Linked DNA regions of Homo sapiens: region 2 is linked to region 1. Evidence: promoter capture Hi-C in human tissues and cell types (Jung and others, 2019). All regions are on one chromosome and are shown on one strand. The core of a region is centred on a gene start or on the middle of the fragment in contact, and the rest is flanking DNA. Distances in the headings are between cores, read along the strand shown.

Region 1 (4,330 bases), core at 1-2,500:
ATACCCTGGGCCGGCCGCCACGTCGCCGACCCTCCCGCAGCTCCCGCCGCCAGGGCGCGACACGCCATTCCCCCTGCCGCGACTCCCCGGAGACGCCGCAGCTGCGCGCCAGGGTCCAGCCCGGCGGGGATCGGGCTCGGGACTCACCCGCTCCGGCGAGCTCGACTCAGCTCGGGCTCCCGCCTCGGCTAGGCAGCCGCCTGGGGCTGCGTCCCGCGCAGGGTCAGCGCGGATCGGGCAGGAGGCGCCCTCTTGGCAAAGTCGGCTAGAGGCGCCAGCTCAGTCGCGCACCGGCCCCGAGTCCGAGTCCGAGAGGGACGGAGGGAGCGAGTTATAGGGGCGAGAGGGGGTGGGGGAAGGACGCCGCAACACCCTCATACCCTCCCCCACCCCGCCCCCTGTCCCCCGCCCCCCAGCGGAGACGCGGAAAACCACTCGCAGCCGGAGAGACACCCGGACACAAAGACCTCGTGCCAGCCGCAGACCCAAGTTTCTCCCGGAGAGACTGGGGGTCCGCCCGCGTTCACCGCGAGAACACACAAACGGACGGACAGACCGACGCACGGACCCGGGGACCTCGACACTCGCTAGGAGGCAAGCCCTATTCCTCAGCCGGGCGCCCCTCGTCTCCCGCTCTCTCCATGGACCCCTCTCCTGGCAAATCGCCCGCAGAGCGAGCTTGGAGATGCGAGGGAAACTGAAGCCCCAAGGGTGCCCCGTCCTGGGAGCCTGGCTGTCTGCGGGGTCCCCCGCATTCCGCAGTAGTAATACAGGAGGGCCGGGGGCTTCTACCCCAACCTCCGCTCCCCTTCGGGTCTCTCCTGGCTGTGCAAGCGATGGGCCAGAGGGCTGGACGAGGCTGGCTCCCAATCCAGAATCCCGAGCTGGGGAGTTCTCTCTAGGTTCTGGGGCTCCTGGGACCGGGGCTTTGGGGAAGGGAGATCGCAGGACGGATATCCAGGAAGGGAGGGGGCCCTGGGTCTCCCGTTACCTGCGCCTGCCGCGCTGGGACTCCGCTCTGGGGGCTGCAGCTCGAAGCTCCGACAAGTCTCCACGTCCAGCCCGAGAGGGGGCGGCCGGGCCCGGCACAGCGAGGCGAGGACCGCGAGCGCCTCCTGGCACCGAGGCCCGCCGGCCCCCCACACTCCGCTCATGCCCTAGACACCCAGGCTTGCCGAGCAGCAGCTCGAACCCGCGCCCCGGCCGCACTGGGGCGGGGCACGACGGCCCCAAGAAGACCCTCCCTGCAGCGGCCCCCTGCGGCTCCGCTCTGCTTTTAATCACTTCCCCGCAGGGTCCCCGCCCCTCACGTGGCATCCCGCGGCAGCTGGCGAGTCTGGCGCCTCGCGGCCGCCCCCTCTACACTCAGGGACTGGCCTGAGTCCGGGGGGTGGGGGTTTCGAGGCGGGAAGCCGGGCTGTCCCGAATCTCGGAGGGTGCAAGGCCAGGAAAGAGTCCGGGTTCCCACTCCGCATTCACTGCCTGGTGTGACCTTGGGCGTCTCTGAGCCTCAATTTTCCTCTCCGTAAAGGAGGTGTAATGATTTTAAGTACTTCACGGACTCCCTGGGGATAGAAAGATCGTGTTTGTGAAAACACTGGGTAAACTGCCACATGCCACACGAATGACAGAGAAATAGATAACCCCGTAACAGAAAGAGCGACGGTCAGGCAGGGTCTGGGAGGACCTTGGCCGAGGTTCCTGACGGGAGCAGTTAGACTGGCCCCCGAGTCCCAGCTTCGGAGGTAGAAGACCCCAAGACAGGCGGGCGATGCGAACTGCAAGACTTTCCGAGCTCCGCAATCCTGCGGTCCGCGGTACCCGCATGTTGCTATGGCGACGGGAGGCAGCGGCCGTCTCTCTCCATGGCAACGGGAGGGAAAAGTTTCTGGCAAACAGGAATGGGGGGTCATTTCAAGAGGGCGCAGGGCGCTCAGTTCCGCCGACCCACCTCCTTGCTTCGGTGAAACAGCACCAGAGATCATGTATCTTTCTGCTAAGCATAACAAGAAAGACAGAAAGCTCAACGGGAGGATTGAGGCTAGACTTAAAGTAGAGATCCCCTCAGAAACTGTGGAGTGAGGCCCAGGAACAGATCGGCTGAGAGGCTTCGAGCTGCCTCACTCAGCGCTGGAAGTCTGTGAGCCATGGTCAGGGAGGCCGGGGGACCAGCGCCCTGCAGGGGCCTATCTCGGGAGTCTCTTGATCTACACCTGTCGGCGGTGGGGCCCCTTCTGTGTGGGGCTCGCCTGAAGCCCCAGACTCAGGTCCATTTGCTCTCCCGGAGCTGGGAAGGAAGCTTTAGCTGCAGCCCCTGGAGGCTGCTGGGTTGGTGTATGCCCGAGTGGCTGGCGAGGGAGAAAGGTCTTGCCTCTTAATTAACACGCTTATTGGAAGTGACTCGGGCAGTGACTCACGTTCCGGAGGGAGGAGATTCGGAGCCTTAGCTCCTGGCGGTCTCCACTGCGCGCCATCTGTGCCAACCGGCCCTTGGACTTGCGATCCCCTAGCAGCTGGTGCCTGGGGCACCAAGGGCTAAGGCAAGGCCTGTGAGGACCCTGGCCCAGCCAGGCGGCTTTTCCACCGTGAGGCGCCCCCTGGCTCTGTCCACGGTGCTGAAGACCCAGTTGGTGCTACCATCGCGTGGGCATAAGTTTAGGGGACGAGGGAGAGGCAATTGTTGAAGGTTCGCAGCTTCCACCCTGACCCCTGTGCCTGTGATAGCAGAAGGCTAGGAACTCAGGCAGGGACCAAGCAGACACGACGCAGGCGATACTGTGCAATCCGGGCTGCCTTCCTGCTGGAGGTGTTTGGTTGCTGTTCCAAGAACAAGTGGGGCTCTGGCATCCCTATGCGCCTTCCTGGTGCTTCTGAAAACCCACCTGAGGAGCCTAGAGGCCCCATTAATTTCTTTTCCATCACCCGATGCAGATCTCAGCACCCAGAAGAGCCTCTGGCTAAACGCTTATTAGCAGTTTCCCAAGTGGCAGGTTTGTGTTTATGTAAAATACAAATGGAGAACTGCTCTTTGCCCGTGTTTATGGCAACTCTGTCACTCCCCTGCTATTTCTCCCTCCCCCTCGCGAGTTCCTGGGGGAAATTCACAGAACAAAGCACCTTGTTTTGCCTTTGCAGAGAATGAAAAAACACAGGACCATTCCAAGGGCCCAGACCTGTGATGCAGGGAAATCAATATTTTGCTTACATCGAGTGGGGGAATTTGCATCTAAACTGAAGGCAAAGGAGCTTGTTTGGAGCAGAGCAGGTGGCAGGAGCCGAGAATTAACAGATAATTTCTCATTGTTCCTGGATTCAGCCTCCACACTCGGCAGGCGCTTCTGCAGCGTCTCTGGCGCCCCGGCAGCAGCTCCGGACCTGGCATTTCTCAATCTAGCAGTGTGAAGGAGCTGCTGCCCTGATAGGGCTGCAGAAACAGGTTAGGGCCCCTGGGTCAGTCAATAGCTATTGAAGTTGGATTGTAGGAGTTAGCGTGTGTGGGAGAGACAGAGATGAGAGAGACAGAGAGAAAGAAACAGAGACAGAAATAGAGGCAAGAGACAGATACAAATGAGAGAGACAGAGGATGAGACAGAGATACAGAGAGACAGTTATAGGAAATAGAGAACAGAGAAACAGACAGGGAGACAGATGTACAGGTAAAGAAACACACATTCAGAAGGAGACATTAAGGTAAAGCCTCACCCTAGTTGTCCTCTTTAGCCCGCTACCTCCCCCAGCCCCCAGGTCAATTGCTGATACCACTGTGGTCACATAACCAGCCACAAAGCAGAAAAATTCTTCATGTAATGATGGAAACTTTTTTGTCTCTCAAACCCCTTTGCCCTGCAAACCCAACCCCCAAACACACCTTTGCTTCTTCCCATATGAAGAGATAAAATTCAGAGTCCCAGGGTCCCACCAAGAGCTGGGAGGGAGGATCCAGGGTCCCACTCAAACCCAGAGAGGGAAAGAGGTGGAAAGAAGTGGAATTGTTGCCCTTCAATTCTATCTCTCAGAGAAATCCCATTCTGAGTTTGGGTTTAGGGGTGGGGAGGAGAGAAGCAGGAGCAGAGACAGTTAAGCATGGAGTGGTGGCAAATAAGTACATTGGACAGGGCCTGGGAGGGCTGGGATTCAGGGCTGGTGCACCAAAGCAGCCACGAGGCTGTCACATCCCCTATCTGGGGCTCAGTGTGCCTATGTGAAGTTGGATTAGGAGCTCTTTGAGGCTCCTTCCAGCAACAGCACTCTAGGATTTTACATGAGGGAGAAAAGAGGAGGCTGGGGCAAAGGGAGGAGGGAGGCAGCCTTTCCTGGCTCTGAAGCTGAG
Region 2 (3,796 bases), core at 408-2,907, 1.4 Mb before region 1:
ATCGAGACCATTCTGGCTAACACAGTGAAACCCCATCTCTACTAAAAATACAAAAATTAGCCAGGCATGGTGGCAGGTGCCTGTAGTCCTAGCTACTCGGGAGGCTGAGGCAGGAGAATCGCTTAAACCCGGGAGGCGGAGGTTGCAGTGAGCCGAGATCGAGCCATTGCACTCCAGCCTGGGTGACAGAGCGAAGAGCGAGACTCTGTCTCAAAAAAAAAAAAAAAGAAAAAGAAAAAGAAAAAAGAAAGTTCAACATCCGTATGGACAACTTCTCCAACACTTTAAAGCTTCCTACTCCTTCTCAGCTACCTGCTCACTCCCATGACTGTTCCCTTGACTCTTGTCACAGTAACCACCACTACCTATTTCTGTTTAAAACAAAGCTCATGATCCTCCCCCTCTAATGTGCCTTACTCCTTCCACACCCTCTGTCTCAGTAAATGGCACCACCCACCAGTCAGCCAAGGCAGAAACCTGATGTCATCCTGAGTCCTCCCTTTGCTCAGCCCTAACCATTTCATGGTAATTCACAGAAGCAGCACTGGGCATGTAGTGGGATCCAGGCACAGTGCTGGGTGCTAGCAGTACAAAGACTATTTAGGCACAGTATCTGCCCTCAAGGAGCTCACACTCAAGTGGAAAATTATGATGGAGAGTTATGCAATCTAGTGGGATCACCTCTTATATTATTTTCTCTATTTTACATATGGAGAGACTATAAAAGCACTAGTTGCCCACGGCTGGTAAGCGGCATGATTAGGACTCAAATTCAGCTCTGTGTGACTCTACAAAGCATTTTCTTCTGTCCTTTGGGCGGCCAGAAATTCCTGCCCATTTTATCTTCTAGTGTTGAAGTCTTCTCCATTGCTAATGTCGGTGACTTAGTGTTAAGCTCATGGTCTCTCCCATGGACCATTAACATTTCCGTCTAATTGGCCTCCTTGCCTTGCTGCCTCCAATTCCACCTCTAAATAGCTGCCAAAGTGATCTTGGAAAGCAGAAATCAGGTCTTGCCATTCCCTGCCCAGCAGGGTAAAATCCACACTGCTCAGCAAAACTGCTGAGGCCTTTCATGCCCAGATTCTGCCCACTTTTCTGGCTTCTCAAGTCCCACTATGTCACCTCAGTTCCCCAAACTGGCCTTGGGCAAGTTTCTTAACCACTCTGGGCCCTAGTTTCTTCAATTGCAAAACAAAGATAATAAAATCTACTGTGTAGGTCACTGTGAACACTAAATGAAGAAAATATATCGCCAGGTGTAGTGGCTCACTCCTGTAATCCCAGCACTTTGGGAGGCTGAGGAAGGCGGATCACAAGGTCAGGAGTTTGAGACCAGCCTGGCCAACATGGTGAAACTCCATCTTTACTAAAAATACAAAAATTAGCTGGACATGGTAGCAGGCACCTATAGTCCCAGCTACTCGGGAGGCTGGGGCAAGAGAATCGCTTGAACCCAGGAAGCGGAGGTTGCAGTGAGCCGAGATCATGCCATTGCACTCCAGCCTGGGCGAAAGAGTGAAACTCCATCTTAAAAAAACGAAACAAAACAAAACATACACACACACACACACACACACACACATATATAATTAAAGCTGTTACAGTCACACCTGGCATACGCATTCAGTAAATGTTGCAGATATCACTGTTATTAATGTTGGGACATTTCTCCTCCCTCTCTGCCTAGCAAACCCTAGTCATCTTTCAAGCCTCACCCTCTTAAACTGTAACATCTCAGACATCCCGAGTAGAACTGGCCATTGCTTCTGTGTCCTCACTGTGCACTACACAGCCTTTCAGGATAGATTTATGATATTCTATTCACTCATTAGCTAACCTGTCTGTCTCCTCTCCTAGACTATAAGTCCCTTGATTACAAAGATTGTGTTTCATTGACCTTGCTTCCTAGCACTGAGTACTGTGCCTGGTTGCTGGTCTGTACACAGCAAAGATTTGGCCAGCGGATGTATGAATCAGTAGGTTATTCAGCTTCTCTAGCTAAGGATTTTGACTATCTGGACAGGGGTACCCATAGTCATGCTCCTGACTCTGCCTGGACTCTTCTTGCTGTACCTGGAAGCTTGTGCTTCCCACTCCTGAAAAAGAAGTGGCTAATCTCTTGTCATTCCTGCTTCACAGCACGCCCCTCCCACTACCCCCAACATCTGGCTCTGCCTAATGAAATGCTGGATTATTAATGGCTCCTATTCAGCATGTCCAGTTAAAGCCACCTCCCACAGCTGTTTGAATTTCATCAGAGGCTTCGGCAAGCTTTCTATCCCCAAATCTTTCAGCCCCAAAGCCACATTTGGAGGGGAGATTTCAATAAGGAACGTTCAGGTCAGTAGCAGCCTATCTGCAGGCTGGTTTCTATCCCCCTCTGTCCCTTCATTTCTATGTGTGGAGGAAGCAAGTGGGAGCCGTGGAGGGAGCCAGGATGACAAAGGGAACGCAACGATCCATTATTTCCTCTCAGAACAAATTAATTTGTGTCTAAGGAAATCTGAGTCAAGCTTTACTGGAGGGGCTGGAGACAGCAGAAGGGATGTAAGATGAAAAATGAAGGCCTGGCGGGGCGCGGTGGCTCACGCTTGTAATCCCAGCACTTTGGGAGGCCGAGGTGGGCAGATCACGACATCAGGAGTTTGAGACCAGCCTGACTAATATGATGAAACCCCGTCTCTACTAAAAATACAAAAATTAGCCAGGCATGGTGATGCATGCCTGTAATCCCAGCTACTCAGGAGTCTGAGGCAGGAGAATCGCTTGAACCTGGCAGGCGGAGGTTGCAGTGAGCCGAGATCGTGCCATTGCACTCCAGCCTGAGTGACAGAGTGACAGAGCGAGACTCCGTCTCAAAAAAAAAAAAAAAAAAAAAAGAAGGCCTTCTTGGATTTAGGCCTAGAGACATCCAAACTCAGTTGCCTATTCTTCCTACCTCTGCTGCTTGGAGACTATTGCTGGAGGGCTCAAAGGACCATCTCTTCCTTCTACTTAATACATTCTGAGGCCAGTTGGTTTCCTTTATTCTTTTTTTTTTCTTTTTGTGGCTGGGTCTTGCTGTGTTGCCCAGGCTGGAGTGCAGTGTTGGAATCATAGCTCACCACAACCTCGACTTCCTGGGATCAAGCAATTTTCCCAGTCTCTTGGGTAACTCAGTCTCTTGGGTAGCTGGGACTACAGGCACATGCCACCATGCCTGGCTAATTTTTTATTTTTTGTAGAAAGAAAGTCTCACTATTTTTCCCAGGCTGGTCTTGAGCTCTTAGGCTCAAGCAATCCTTCTGCCTCAGCCTCCCAAAGTGCTGGGATAATAGGTGTGAGCCACCGCTCCCAGTCAGCTTCCTTTGCTAACTCTTGTCAGCTCTGGGATTGGCATAATTTTTGTCTCTATGGAAAGTTGATGGCCGGAAAGTTGATGGTGGGACATTACTGTGGGCCCTGGCACCAGCAGGATCTAGATATGCCTTTGGACAAGTTATGCTCTTCTCTGGGCCTCAGTTTCCTAATTGATAAATCAGGAAGTAGAATCTCAGGCAGGTTTACTTCACATGGCTGTTGTGAGGGTAAAGTGTTACCTGGTACATTGCCTGCTTATTCACCAGACCATCTCAGAGTTATCCTGTTCCTAGAACCTGAGAAAGTCTCTGACATGTAGTAGGAGCTCAATGAAACATGTTACATTCGTCAATTCTTGCATTGCTATAAAGAAATAACTAAAACTAGAACATTTATTTATTTATTTATTTATTTATTTATTTTTGAGATGGAGATCTCGCTCTGTTGCTCAGGG

Evidence for each region. Contacts are between HindIII fragments. The study calls those that stand out against the background at their distance.
Region 2: a contact is called between a fragment that was not itself captured here and the fragment with the promoter of SYT6 in region 1, in 1 of the 25 tissues and cell types used here (pancreas).

The regions. Positions count from the first base shown.
Region 1 is chr1:114,152,619-114,156,948 of GRCh38, forward strand. SYT6 (synaptotagmin 6) reads right to left here and starts at 1,251. Exons shown (of 8, transcript NM_001253772.2): 1 at 992-1,251. The coding sequence starts at 1,154. RefSeq lists an enhancer at 2,426-3,039 and a silencer at 3,969-4,263. The HindIII fragment of the contact is 10,069 bases long and covers 1-4,330 here.
Region 2 is chr1:112,777,902-112,781,697 of GRCh38, forward strand. No RefSeq gene overlaps it. Among named protein-coding and RNA genes, the nearest start is that of NUTF2P4, 32 kb to the left of the region's middle. The HindIII fragment of the contact is 4,043 bases long and covers 1-3,679 here.